Regions from separate parts of the Homo sapiens genome. Here all the other regions are linked to region 4. Evidence: promoter capture Hi-C in human tissues and cell types (Jung and others, 2019). All regions are on one chromosome and are shown on one strand. Each heading gives the region's core, a stretch centred on a gene start or on the middle of the fragment in contact. The rest is flanking DNA. Distances are from core to core; before and after follow the strand shown. Region 1 holds the start of CORO2A (coronin 2A). Region 2 has its middle 29 kb from the start of TBC1D2. Region 3 overlaps TBC1D2 (TBC1 domain family member 2). Region 4 holds the start of ANKS6 (ankyrin repeat and sterile alpha motif domain containing 6).

The links. The method cuts DNA at HindIII sites, captures the fragments that hold promoters and counts their contacts. A contact is called where the count stands out against the background at its distance.
Region 1: a contact is called between the fragment with the promoter of CORO2A here and the fragment with the promoter of ANKS6 in region 4, in 1 of the 25 tissues and cell types used here (mesendoderm cells).
Region 2: a fragment that was not itself captured here is called in contact with the fragment with the promoter of ANKS6 in region 4 in 7 of the 25 tissues and cell types used here (IMR-90 fibroblasts, adrenal gland, aorta and 4 more).
Region 3: a contact is called between a fragment that was not itself captured here and the fragment with the promoter of ANKS6 in region 4, in 1 of the 25 tissues and cell types used here (esophagus).

What each region holds. Positions count from the first base shown.
Region 1 is chr9:98,190,465-98,194,031 of GRCh38, reverse strand. CORO2A (coronin 2A) reads left to right here and starts at 1,395. Exons shown (of 12, transcript NM_052820.4): 1 at 1,395-1,473. RefSeq lists silencers at 1,066-1,615, 1,686-1,735 and an enhancer at 1,888-2,542. The HindIII fragment of the contact is 8,969 bases long and covers 1-3,567 here.
Region 2 is chr9:98,283,118-98,286,682 of GRCh38, reverse strand. No RefSeq gene overlaps it. Among named protein-coding and RNA genes, the nearest start is that of TBC1D2, 29 kb to the right of the region's middle. The HindIII fragment of the contact is 5,687 bases long and covers 1-3,565 here.
Region 3 is chr9:98,220,986-98,224,509 of GRCh38, reverse strand. TBC1D2 (TBC1 domain family member 2) reads left to right here. Exons shown (of 13, transcript NM_001267571.2): 6 at 3,282-3,524. Among named protein-coding and RNA genes, the nearest start is that of MIR6854, 6.5 kb to the left of the region's middle. RefSeq lists an enhancer at 641-1,840. The HindIII fragment of the contact is 3,073 bases long and covers 1-3,002 here.
Region 4 is chr9:98,794,585-98,797,833 of GRCh38, reverse strand. ANKS6 (ankyrin repeat and sterile alpha motif domain containing 6) reads left to right here and starts at 1,279. Exons shown (of 15, transcript NM_173551.5): 1 at 1,279-1,701. The coding sequence starts at 1,343. RefSeq lists enhancers at 1,015-1,515, 1,516-2,016 and a silencer at 1,137-1,756. The HindIII fragment of the contact is 18,100 bases long and covers 1-3,249 here.

The DNA.
Region 1 (3,567 bases), core at 146-2,645, 600 kb after region 4:
ACAAGCATGAGCCACTGCGCCCAGCCATCCATATGCTTGATACCCAACTCTTGCACGCTAACACCAGAAGCATGCGTTCAGTCTACCTGCTGGGCAATCCAGCTCCAGAAGGTCTGAATCAGAGCTGTAGGATGGGGTTTTCAGGACCATAGTGCACACTGGGCTTTGGGTGGTAGGCAGGGAGCCCGTCCAGCTCTGGGCAGGGGGGTGGTACAGTGGACTATGGAAGCTGAGTCACATTCTAAGGAGAGAATCAAGAGCTCCCTAAGTACCTTGCCACTCCAAGCCTCAGTTTTCTTATCTGTAAAATGGAGGTAATAATAGTGGCTAAATAAAGCCACTATTATTAGAAGCTTAGAAGAAACGATACAGATATGTAAAGTAGTAACAGTGTACTCTGTTATCCACTCCACAACTATATATTGAGTGGTTACTATGTGCCACGGAGCAGTTCAAGGCCCTCAAGATAACCCGTCTCTACTGAACAAAACCAAGAGCTCTTCACAGACGTGGTGTGGAGTGGAGTGGCTGTTAGCTTAGTAGCCGTGGGAGCCATACTGCCTGGGGTTGCATGACTAGCCGGGTGATCTTAACCTAGGTACTTAATATCTCTGTGCCTCAGCTCTTTTGTGTTAAATAGGTGAGTAATGGTATCAACCTCATAGGCCTGTGTGACAGTGAAGCGAGGTAATGCACAGAAGGCGCTTAGAGGAGTGCGTGGCTCAGTAGTGTTAGGTGGGGGTGGTACCCAAAGGTAGGGCCTCCCCATTGTCTAGTGTCCTCAGGGCTCTCCAGCCAGCGAGGCTGGCAGCAGCGCCCCCGGCTGGTCCCGAGAGAAGGAAGGGCGTCCTCCTCGGTTCCCAGCGGCGCTCCCGGCTCCTCTCCTCCCTGCGGACGGGGAAGCCTCGGTAACCGCTGTAACTGCTCGGGGAAAGGAGCGCTTCCCTGGCCGGGCTCGGCGCGCGCACTGTACCCGGCCGGGATCGTCACATCCAGGGCTCAAACAGCCTTAAGAGGCCGACGCGGTTACTGTCTCCATTTCACAACGGGGGAAACTGAGGCTCCGGGAGGTCAGGTTCCTCATCCCACACCACGCAGCGAGGGCACGGCGCGACGTGGGGCCCGCGGCTCTGCCTGTCCCCAGCCTCCGCCTGGTGGCCGGCAGCCCGCCCCAATCACTGCGGCGTGTGCGCGCCTGTTCCCAGCACGTGTGCGCGCCCCGAGACCCGCCCCGGGGAGCCAGGAGCGCGGTCGGGGTCGTGGGGGCGGAAAAGGGTGGCCAGGGCGGACCCGCGGGGCGGGCAAAAGGGCGGACCTTGGGCCAGGCCCCCGCCCCGCCCTCCGGCCCCGCCCGCCGGGCTGCAGGGGGAGGCGGCGGCGGCTCTGGGCGCCGGGAGTCGGCGGGCGGCGAGGAGCGCGGAGCCGGAGCTGGACGCCGCCGCCGCCACCGCCACCTGCGCGGCAGTCATCAAGGTAGGGCGGCCCTGCGCCGCCGGCCGTGCCTTCCCGGTCTGCGCGATGGGGGCGTCGGGCGGGACGTGCGCGCTGCGGCTGCAGCTCCCGGAGAGGGAGGGATGCGGGGCTCGGAGCGCGGGGGACCTGGCTTTCAGCCCCTTTGCGTGACCTTGCACAAAGCACTGCTCCTCTCCAGGCCTCAGTTTCCCCGTCAGGATAGCTTGCTCATTGGTGGCCCCCTTCTCGCGGGGTTGTTGGGAGGGGCCGCCTCGAGGTCCGGGCTCCCGACGGCTCGCTGCCCTCATGAGCACTGTCTGCACCGCCCACCCCTCCTGCCCGCGGTGAGGGAAGCTCACTCTGGGCGCGGCCAGCCGGTCCCGACAGGCCCCTGCTGTGGCCCGGGTGCTCCATGGGACTCTTGTCGGGACCCTCCCCCTCTTGGCTGCGTTACCTGCTGGGCCTCAGCTTCCTGGTACAGGAAACGGTGGGGTGGGGGGCATCCCCGGGTCCCCGCCAAGCCGGCCTGGGCGTGCATGTGGGGCATCAGCCGGCCCGCCAAGAGGGTTTACTCGTCTGGGGCTGGAGGAGCCCTAGGTTGGAGGTGGCTGGACTCCTGGCGGCACGACTGCCTGGACCAGCCCCACGTAGGCACCTCGATTTAGAGAGTGGTATAGGATAGCTCCTTCCCCTTCCCCACCCGGGCCAGGTGCTGGTGCCTAGCTCTGTGTCCCAGAGCTAGTGTGTGATAAGGTGTGACACACACTAGCTGGTGTGACAAGGGGTGACTGGCGGCCACGCCTGGACCTCAGAGGGGTGACAGTGCCAAGGTGCTGTGTCCGCGTGGCATTAAGGGATGGGGCAGAGCACAGGTCTGAGGGACTGTGGTCCCAGGCTCCCTAGGTAAAGAAGACCTATGGCATCTGGCCCAGCCCCTCTGTAAGATCCCCTCTGGAAGGTCTTGCTGCCCCCTTGCACACTCCTTGTGATAGGAATCTCACTAGTTGTAAACCAAGCTGGAATCTGCTACCCAGTCACTGCCTCTCCTGCTGGTCCTGCTCTGGACACACAAACAACCTCTGACCCTTCCTCCCTCACCCTGGGGCAGTGGTCAGGTCCCTTAAATATGCTCATCTCCAGACCCAGCAGCCCCAGGCCCAGCAGTTTCTCCCATCAGATCCCAGGGAGCCAAGGCAAGAAGAGGGAGCCGAGGTGTCTGCCCTGGAGCAGGCTGTGGGGCCTCCGCTTTCCTGGGGCTTGTTCAGAACCCACCTGTGCATCAGGACTGGAATGTGTCTCCCCAGCTTCCTGCCCCTCCTGGGGACCGTCTGAGAGGTCCGGAGTGAGGAGAGCCGGAGCCCCTCTGCAGGCCTTTCCTGCCCCATGGGGCCTCTTCTCCACCTCCCTGATGCCTGCCCTGTTTGAGGGAGCAGTTTCTAGGAATCACTTCTCAGCCTCCTGGTCTTTCTTGTCCCCTTCATGACCTGCCCTGCACCCAGGGATTTTCTTAACAGCCAAAAGAGGGCAGGAGGCCCCTGGACAGGTAGTGAGCTCTTTGTCATCACAGGTATTCAAGCAGAACCTGGGGGTGAGCTACCTTGGACTGAAAGTCTATGGAATTCTAGGGCTGAAGTAGTGCCTATGACCTTGCCCTGCGGCCATGGTGGAGCTGCACAGGACTGGGAGCTGGACCACAAATGAGTGTTATTATCCCCTCGTAAAAGCAGGCAAAGTATATGTGCTGGCCCATGAGCCCAGCTCCGACGCACAGGCTTAAGTGCTACCTGGGTCTCCTGTCATCTCGACACATGTATAATCTGGGCCCTGTTTTCCTGCTTGCCTAATTCAAGCCTTTTTGGCCTGATTTAGGAGCATGGCAGATTCTGGTTATTAAAAAGTCATGCTATGACTTTAATTGCTAATACTTTTTAAATGCACCATGGAATCATGGAATGTCTGAGCTGAAAGGAGCCTTCAGACGTCGTCTCATTCAACCCCCTCATTTTACAGATAGGCATCCCCTGTCGCCAGAGGGGATGTGACTGGGCAAAGGTCACACAGCAAACCAGCAACCGAGCCCAGGGATCCTGATTCCAAGATTGGAGTGCCTTTTTT
Region 2 (3,565 bases), core at 931-3,430, 510 kb after region 4:
ATGGGAAACAGGCCCAACATGAAGAATACGTACCCAAGGCCACCTAATAAGGCTGTGGCAAAGGCAGGAACAACCAGAATCTTAGCTGGTCTTCCTTCTCTACCTGACCCTGACTCACAGAAATTAGAGCAGAGAAAGGTGGCAGCGGTCATCTCACCCAGCCCCTCCTAGTACAGTTGGGGAAACGGAGGCCCAGCAACTGGAGCCAAGGTCAACCAGAAGGTCACGAGAGGGCCAGCATGGAACCCAGATGTCCTGGTTTTGAGACTTGGCTCTTCTCAGTCCACTTCCCACACCTGTTCTGCCATAGGTAGTACGACCACAGCGGTGAGACGCTGCCCCATAGAGCAATTTCTCAGCTACCACAGACTGAGAAATCTTTACATAGCCTCACTAAATATGGAGTCAGCCAAGACAACATTTGGTCTTTCCTCTTAGCACGTCTGAAAGAGAGAAATGACCCAAGTGTTGAAGATGCTCCTTGTCACATCACTGAAGTGATGCCTTGCTTGGCCATAAGCAGGAAAAGCCCAGACAGCAATGGTGCACTTCATTCCTCTTCATTCTTCTTCAAAAGCATTCTGTCTTCCTTTTGTTATGACTGGGTCATTTCTGAGTTAAAAATAAAAGAGTGTTTCCCAACCTCAAAGACAGGCTTTCTGGAGTTGAAGCCCTCTTAGAAAGCTCTGCCTGGGGGTCTCCTCACCCTGGGGTGTGGAGACAACACTGGGGTCCACTCTGAGGGAAGAAGGGGAGAGGTTTCTGAAAACATTAAGCCTGGGGCACCAGCCGAGGCCTGCCCTTCCAGGCAGTTTCCTGTGCTCAGCAATTTCTTCTCTACAAGGATCAGGATCCACAGGCCTAGAAGCCAGTGCCAGGGAGAGGAGGTGGTACTGGGTAGATTGCAAAAAGCAGACTGGCGGCCATCAGCACCTCTGCCTGTCCAGCAACCACATCTGCCTTCCTGCAGCTCCTCTGAAAGCACTGCCCTACTTTTGGGGGAAAGCAGAAGAGAGAAAATCTGGAGGGCCGCCCTTGCTTCCACTGCTGGACACAGGATTGGCTCAGGGATATGCTCATTAACCAAGCCCAGCCAGTCAAAGCTTTCCCCTGCCGTTTTTAAGAAGTTTGAAATCTTGCCCTCCACGTGGAGAGCAATGAAAAGAGGGAAACTGAGCTCTCATTGCATCATTTAGGCTCAAGGACCAGTGATACCTAAAAATACATCCATCCTTGAGCTTGTAGGTTTTAAACTAATACATACCCTTTTCTGCTTACATAGAGTTGGGTTTCTGTCACTTAGAACCAAAAGAAATCTGTGGGATGCAGAGGGGCTCCACGAGGGGTTCACTGTTGTCTGAAACCCTCCTGGTATTAAGGAGACATGCAGGAGATATTTCCCTGGCCTCACACACGCTGCTGAACAGGGAGGTGGGTAAGGATACCCAAAGGGAAGATGGGGCTAAGAAGCCTCAGGAGGCTAAAGAAGGGTCAAGGAGCCAGGCTGAGGGCCGGAGGGCTGGCACCAAGCTGCGTGCCCAGCACTTGTCACCTGCCTGTCCCCTACCCCCTTAGCTTGTCACCCCTTACTTAGCCTTGAGGAGCAGGGTTTGTAGGTACTGGACAGTAAATGATTAACACACTCTCTGGAAGAGAAAATTGGTCCCTCCTCTGCCTCCACCCCACATCTGAAACCCCTGGCAAATCCCAGGGGCTAACTCCATCATACTTGGTCTGCCCTGTCCGTGGTCCTGAGTGGGTCCTGCCCAGAGATGACAATTCACTGTCTGGTTCCTCCAGGTCCCACCTTCAGGAGCCCCAGACCCTCAATGGGGCATCCACCGAGCCCCTGATCTTTGCCAAGGCCTGTGCTAGGTGCCAGGTGAACAGTGAGTAGGATATAGGTCTCAAGAAGCTCACACACTAATAGGAAGACAGATGCTTAATGAAGAAATGACAATAGCCTGTGATAAGCACCTGCTCCAGAATGGACATGCCTCCTGGGGGCCATAGCCTCCAAACAGGGCTAGTTTTGGGGGTTTGCAACCTATACAGTTTTTAAAGGGCCTCATGTTCGACTTAATGCTCTGCTGTAACTATTTTGAAATTCTAAATAACTTTTGAAAAGGGGGCTTAGAATTTTATTTTATTTTTATTTTTTATTGACTTGTTTATTTTTGAGACAATGTCTCACTCTGTTGTCCAGGCTGGAGTACAGTGGCATGATCACAGCTCACTGCAGCCTTGACCTCCTGGGCTCGAGCAATCCTCCCCACTCAGCCTACGAGTAGCTGGTACTACAGGCATGCAACACCATGCCTGGCTAATTTTTTATTGTTTAGAGAGATGAGATCTCTCTAAAAAATAAAATATTTAAAAAAATTTATGTTGCCCAGGCTGGTCCCGATCACCTGGGCTCAAGCAGTCCTCCCACCTCAGCATCCCAAAGTGCTGGCATTACAGGCACGAACCACTGTACGCGGCCCAGGGCTTAGCACTTTAATTTCATACTGGAGCCCACAAATTATGTAGCCAGTCCTATACCTAGACCTGAAAATGAGTAAAAGCTAGCCAGCAAAAGAGAGAAAGAAGAGGAGGGGAGAGGGAGAGAACTAGCAGCCCAATTCTGTAGAATGCATGCACCTGCAGGGGCTGCTGTGGCTGCACCAAGGACAACTAAGTTGTTGTGTGTTAATCACCTGTCATGGAATCCATGTGACTTCAGACTGCTGCGTGATCAGACAGCACGCATCCTGTCTATGTGTGATGATGTGAGTTACATCTGAAAAATCATCAGGCCTGGGTGCACATTTGTACACCTTCACTTACCTGGCTGCATGGCTTTGAATGATTCCACCTCTCTGAGCTTCTGATCCCTCATCTGTAAAATGGACATGATACCTCGCTCAGAGCTTCTCTGACAGTCAAAGAGGCTCATGTAGGGGAAAGTGCCTTGTGAACACTAAGCTTATATTTGTGCTACTCCCAGACAGGAGGAATGTAAAATGAGCAGCTTTAGTAGGTACAATGGGGCAGCCAACAGCCTAGTCTCCTCACAACAGACTGCATCTAGGAAGAATGTCATTAGGGAAAACATCCTGACATGCTGTGTTAGGGGCAAGGTGAGATTCTAAAGACAAGGCTAAAAGAGAGACAGCAGAACAATTCTGTTAGAAAAAGAACTAGAAGTTTGGGGTTAGAAGGAGAGAAAAATGAAAGGAGTGGGTGATAAATAACAGGACAGTGTGGCTAAAAAGCTTTTAAGAATAGGGATGTCAGCCAGGTGCGGTGGCTCATGCCTGTAACCCCAGCACTTTGGGAGGCTGAGGCGGGTGAATCACCTGAGGTCAGGAGTTCGCAACTAGCCTGGCGAACATGATGAAACCCCGTATCTACTAAAAATACAAAAAATTAGCCAGGCATGGTGGCACACGCCTGTAACCCCAGCTACTCAGGAGGCTGAGGTATGAGAATCACTTGAACCTGGGAGGTGGAGGTTGCAGTGAGTCGAGATTGCACCATTGCACTCCAGCCTGGGCAACAAGAGCAAAATTCCTTTTCAAAA
Region 3 (3,524 bases), core at 217-2,716, 570 kb after region 4:
AGAGTTCAAGACCACCCCGAACAACATAGGGAGACCCTGTCTCTACAGAAAATAAAATAATTAGCTGGGCAATGTGGTGCATGCCTGTAGTCCCAGCTACAAGGGAGACTGAGGCAAGAGAATCTCTTGAGCCCAGGAGGTTGAGGCTGCGGTGGGCCGTGATTGCGCCACTGCACTCCAGCCTGGGCAACAGAGTGAGACCCTGTCTCAAAAAAAAAAAAAAAAAAAAGAAAAGAAAAAAAAACACTTCAAAAAGCTTAATTTCATCAACCCCTCTATTTTTCTTTTCTTTTCTTTTCTTTTTTTTTTTTTTGAGATGGAGTCTCGCTCTGTCGCCCAGGCTAGAGTGCAGTGGTGCGATCTCAGCTCACTGCCAGCTCCGCCTCCCGGGTTCACACCATTCTGCCTCAGCCTCCTGAGTAGCTGGGACTACAGGCACCCGCCACCACGCCTGGCTAATTTTTTTGTATTTTTAGTAGAGACGGGGTTTCACCATGTTAGCCAGGATGGTCTCGATCTCCTGACCTCGTGATCCGACCGCCTTGGCCTCCCAAAGTGCTGGGATTACAGGCGTGAGCCACCACGCCCGGCCCAACCTATTTTTAAGAATTGGTCCTAAGACATTGCTTATAATCCAGACTTTAGGTTTCTTGAATTCATGACATTCTCACTCCTCATCTTACAAGTCCTACTGAGGCTCCCTCCCTCTGCCCTGGTTCCGTTCTTTTAAGCCTATTTTATTCTGGTACAAGAATTCTGGGGGTGGGAGGAGAGCCTCCTGGGCTGGTGTCTCAGTCTTAGATTCTGGGAGCCAAATGCGGGAAGGAGACAGCTAGATGTAATGAAATAAGCTTCAGAGTCAACTAACTCCCCAAATTGAGGGAAAGACACCCACTGGTCCTGCTCCTAGGGCAAGTCTGAACAATGATGTCTGTTGGTTATTTCCCTGGGCAGTCATCCAAGGTAACCTCCAAATCTCAGCTGAAGCAGAAAATGGCCTAGGCCCCCAGTTTTCCTGGAACCACAGGAATGTTAATCTCTCTCCACTGAGCCCTGAGAAGCTGACTTCTTCATTCTGGACGTTCCAAACATTCCCTTTTGGTTTGCAATCACTGTGCTGTCCTCACCCCAACTTCCTGCCACACCCCAGGGCTCCCACAGCTCCATGGTAGCTCTTTCCTTCCTCCAGGTCTTTACTGGGGCTGTAGCTTGGCCACATCTGGAGGGCCATCCCCACCCTCATCTCCCACCTGCTGCTCGACCATCTCTGGCCCTTCTCATTCTTCACAGTTTCTTTTAAATGCTCTGGACTGGTATTCCCCACAACCTCCACCCCAGACAGAAGTCATTGCCTTTCCCACAAACACCCTTGTTCCCCTGACTTGCAGTAGATCATTCCACTGTGGTGGGTCATGTTCATTCCCACCAGCCTTTGCAGTCCTTGGAGGTGGGAACTCTCACCACTCCCTCTCTGGGCCACGGCACCTGGCTCAGGGCCTGGCCTGGCACCGAGTGGTGCTTGGTAAAGGTTGGATGGATGGATGGGCATGTGGAAGGAAAAGAGAGAACCAGAGAAAGGATGGTCACTAGTCCTAAGGTTTCAGAAGATGCAGGCTAATGTGGTCTTGTCATTAGCTTCTCCAAAAAAGTCATGGTTTTTGGCAGTTTTCCTCCAATATAGAATTGTTCTTAGCAAATAAGGCTATCCAGCCAATCCACTCATTTTAATACTTTGGTGTGGTATAGTTGACATGTCTCTAGGAAACCATGTTTTTCCAAATGAGAAGCACAGAGCAGGGCAGTGTTGCCTGAAAGTCATACCTACCTGGTATTAGTTCCACGTGGACCTGGCTGCTGATGTCCTGATCCTGGCCCAGAACAAATTCACATCCCTGCTTTGGGACAGATAGGCCTGAGTCCAGGCGTGGCCCTCCCTGGGGAAATTACAGGCTTAAAGGCACAGGGAGCTGAGCAGACCTTGAGTTCCTGTGTGAATTAGTTGCCCCTGCTGAGGAATAAATCAAGCTCTATTGTTTCTGAACTTTCTAGAGTTCCTTCCACCAGCTTTGCAGGCATCGGCTGGTGGGCTGAAGGTAACTAGGCACAAATGGCTTGAATGAGGTCCTCTGTGTGTGGCTTTACATGGGGATTGCCAGTGTATTTCCTCTTTAACCCTGACTCAACTTGATTGGTAGTGACTGGCTGCTATATTGAGAATGATTCTGAGGCCTCAACTAGGGTAGGCTGTGCAGGAAGAAGTATGGGAGATTAATTAGTGATGTCTGCCACAGGGATGAGAGGGAAGAGTAATGCCACATAGCTGCCACCCCTGGTTTTCTTAGTTACTGAGCACAGGCTTTGGAATCTAGCCAATTGAGATTGAATTCCATTCTACTCTCTGCTGGGCCTCAGTTTGTTCATCCCTGAAATGGATGTGTATATGTCAGGGTATGGGTTCAGCTGCTGTGACAAAAACATCTCCACTGGGTGTGGTGACTCATACCTGTAATCCCAGCACTTTGGAAGGCCAAGGTGGGCAGATCATTTGAGTCCAGGAGTTTGAGACCAGCCCGGCAACATGGCAAAACCCCTTCTCTACAAAAAAATACAAATATTAGCCTGGTGTGTTGGCATGTTCCTGTGGTCCCAGCTACTTGAGAGGCTAAGGTGGGAGGATCAGCTGAGCCCAGGAGATTGAGGCTACAGTGAGCCATGTCTGTGCCACTGCACTCCAGGCTGGGTAACAGAGGGAGACGCTATCTCAAAAAAAAAAAGTTTCAAAGCACTGTGGCCCAAAACGAGTGAGAGGTTTCTCATTCACATTAAAGAACCCAGAGGTAGGTGAGCAACTCTGAGCTGGGGGGCAGCCCTTTCTCAACATGTACCTTCTGCTGTGGGTCTGAGGCGGCCACTCTAGTTCCTGCCACTTCCCAGCCAGAAGCAAAGAGAACTGGACCAGAGGAGCGTGTATCTAGTGGTTTTAAAGGTAGGACCCAGAAGCTGCCCATCTCACTTTTCATTTCCCATTTAGGCAGAATAGTTACTTGGCTACACCTCACCATGGCTTGGCTGGGAGATGCAGTTTTAAGCTGGGGAACCATGTGCCCAGCTAACAGTCACTTGAACAGAGAAGGAGAAAGTGAGTGTCAGGATGAGATGCCGCAGGGATGCTGCTGGGCACCTCTCACGGTTGTTAGGAGAACTACTGATAACATATACCCCACTGTGGCGCCCAGCAGGCCCTCCCTGAGCTCACAAGATTCTTCCCTCTCCCTGCCCAGGAGCTAGTGAAGATCCTGCACAAGGCACTGGAGGCCGCCCAGCAGGAGAAGCGGGCGTCCAGCGCATACCTGGCGGCGGCTGAGGACAAGGACCGGCTGGAGCTGGTGCGGCACAAAGTGCGGCAGATCGCGGAGCTGGGCCGGCGGGTGGAGGCCCTGGAGCAGGAGCGGGAGAGCCTGGCGCACACAGCGAGCCTGCGGGAGCAGCAGGTGCAGGAGCTACAGCAGCACGTGCAGCTGCTT
Region 4 (3,249 bases), core at 30-2,529:
TGAGCTCAGGACTTTGAGACCAGCCGGACAACATGGTAAAACCCTTTCTCAACCAAAAATACAAAAAATTAGCCGGGTGTGGTGGCACTTGCCTGCAGTCCTAGCTACTCGGTAGGCTGAGGTGGGAGGATTGCTTGAGCCTGGGAGGCAGAGGTTGTGGTGAGTAGAGATTGCACCATTGCACTCCAGCCTGGATGACAGAGCAAGACCCTGTCAAAAGAGAGAGAGAGAGAGAGAGAGAGAGGGAGAAAGGGAGGGAGGGAGGGAGGAAGGAAGGGGGATAGGGAGGGAGGGAGGGAAGAGAGGGAAGGAATGAAAGAAATGTGGTGCATATACACGATAGAATATGATGGAATACTACGGAATACTATGCAGCCATAAGAATGAACGAAATCATGCCCTTTGCAGCAACATGGATAAAGCTGGAGGCCATTATCCTAAGCGACCTAAAAAGAACAGAAAACCAAATACTGCATGTTCTCACTTATAAGTGGGAGCTAAACATTGAGTACACATGGACACAAAGATGGGAACAACAAACGCTGGGGATCGCTAGGCCAGGGAGGGATGGAGGGGACTCTGGGCTGAAGAACCTCTTGGTGGGTATTATGCTTACTGCCTGGGTGACGGGATCGTTGGGACCACAAGCTTCAGCGTCGCGCAATTTACCCATGTAACAATTTACCCATGTAACAAACCTGTACCCTTTAATCTATAATAATAGTTGAAATAAAAGGTGGGGGAGAGAGAGAGAACAGGAGGCGCTTTTAGCCCCAGCAGCCTGGCCCAGATGAAGGAGCGACATTAAGGGCACCGCAGGACACTGTGAGGAAACAATCCGTTCGTTCCTTAATTCAGCCGCTTCCTTATTCTAGAAGGGCAGGTTCAGTGCCAGGGGCTGCGGTGGGGTCAGCGGAGCCCGCTAGTAAAGTCAAGGCCCACGCAGCTGCGGACTCAGACCCGGGCCCAGGGCCCTGACCACAGCGTGAAGAGGGGATGGCGTGGCCGCTCCCACCTCTGCCCTGACAGGAAGTTTCTGGAGCCCCGGGACAGGGCGGCGAGAGGGCGCCGAAGAGGCAAAAGGGAACACGCGGGTCTGCGGCGGGCGCTCCTCTGAGCGTCCCTGGACTCCCGAATACGGGCACTGGAGGTGCGCAGCCCCGGCCCTAGCGCGCTCCCGGCACACAGCAGGCGCGCGGCCCTAGCCCCGGCGCGCTCCCGGCACACAGTAGGCGCGCGGCGCGGGCGGGTGGCCGGAAGGGGGCGCCTGCGGGCGGTATCCGGGGGCGGAGCCGACGCGGCCGGCGGGGCGGACGGGAGCGGGCCGCGCGTGGCGGCGGCGATGGGCGAGGGCGGGCTGCCCCCGGCCTTCCAGCTGCTGCTGCGCGCGTGTGACCAGGGCGACACGGAGACGGCGCGGCGGCTGCTGGAGCCGGGGGCGGCGGAGCCAGCCGAGCGCGGCGCGGAGCCGGAGGCGGGCGCGGAGCCGGCGGGGGCCGAGGTGGCCGGGCCCGGGGCCGCAGCGGCGGGGGCAGTCGGGGCTCCGGTGCCCGTGGATTGCTCGGACGAGGCGGGCAACACCGCACTGCAGTTCGCCGCGGCCGGGGGCCACGAACCGCTGGTGCGCTTCCTGCTGCGCCGCGGTGCCTCGGTCAACAGCCGCAACCACTACGGCTGGAGCGCGCTCATGCAGGCGGCCAGGTGAGGCGGCGGGGCCCGGGGGCCCGGGACCAGAGTGGTGCCCGGCGCTGGCCCGAGACGCGGTCCCCGGCGGCCGGATGCCCCGGGAGGTGAAGAGTTAAGGACTCCTTAGAGTTGGAATGGTAAACTTTGAGTAGTCTTTTGTAAACTTTGAGCATAGACGTGGAAACACTTTTGAATTAACATAAAATCAGATTCTTAGAAATTTTGGCCTTTCAGAATAGAATCTGGAGACAGCGAATAGAATTGTAGAGACTTAGAACCTTAGAGATTTAATTCATTTCTTATTGCAGTAAGAGTTTCCTCAGAACCTGCCTTCCCTTCCTGGCTTGGCGTTGAGGGTGCTGCGAGACCCAGGCAGAGTCCCCACCCAGGGCATTGGTGGGCAGGCCAGGCAAAGGAACGAGCTTGACCGGAAAGGTTTGAGTAGCTGTGGGGCAGGTGACCCATTTTGGAGACGTGGGGGAAGGTTTCTGGTAGAAAAGATGTTTATATCCACGTGGAGACCTGCGGATACCTGAGAATTAGCCAGGACATTACAAGTGGGCTGTGGGAAGGCATGATGGGAGGCCCATGCAAAGGCTTGGGTGCACGAGCTGGTAGGACTGGTAGAATGAGGTATGCGTAGAATGTATGAGTAGAATGATGTACTAGTCCTCCCTGGAGAGAAGGCAGATGCCAGGGAGTTGGGGGAGTGTGGGAGCTGAGAAACGCTAGCTATCCTAGGGTGCTAGGGAGTCATGGAAGGTGCTAGGGAGTCATGGAAGGTTCTAGGCAGAATGAGTGACAGGATGAGAGTTACGTTTTGGAAAAATTACTTTCCTTGAAGTGTGAGAATAGATTAGATACTCTAGGGTAAGCTAGAGTCAAAAAGGCTGGTTAGGTAGAGTTTGCTGCAGTCTGAGTGAGAGGTGATGGTGGCCTAGACCAGAATGGAGACAGCGGAGGGAGGGCACCCAGATGAATTTGTGATATATTCAGGGAGTAGATCAGCAGGAGTTGACGACTGGCCCTTGGGGAGGGGTTAAGAGAGACAGCAAGGATGGCATCTAGAGATCTGGCTTCTGTGAAGCCTGCCATGATATCTCCCTGTTCTCTGGTCCCTCCGCAGCAGAAAGGCCTCTGTGGTAGCATCCATCACACCATGTTAATGCTGACTGGCTTCCTCAGTACCCAAACCTGGCCACACATCAGAATCACCAGGATGCTTGTCTAAGTGCAGATTCCTGAGTTCCTTTTCTGGAGATTGTGATTTAGAAGGCCCAGGGCAGTGAGGGGAGTAAGAGACAGGGACTCTGTGTGAGAAGAGGCTCCCCAGTGATTCTCTTGTATGGTAGGTTTGGGAGCCACTGATGTGTTATGTGTGTCTCATCTCTGCAATCCACCAAGTGCGTGCACAGGGGCCCTGGTGAGCCCCCTGAGGAATTTACTGAGTGAGGTTTGTGACTACAGCACTGACATGCCTCAGAGTGTCTCAGAGACCCCAGATCATCAGTTTTAACCAAGTTCTGCAGGATAGTCTTGAGCCTGGGTATTTTAAAATGTGCT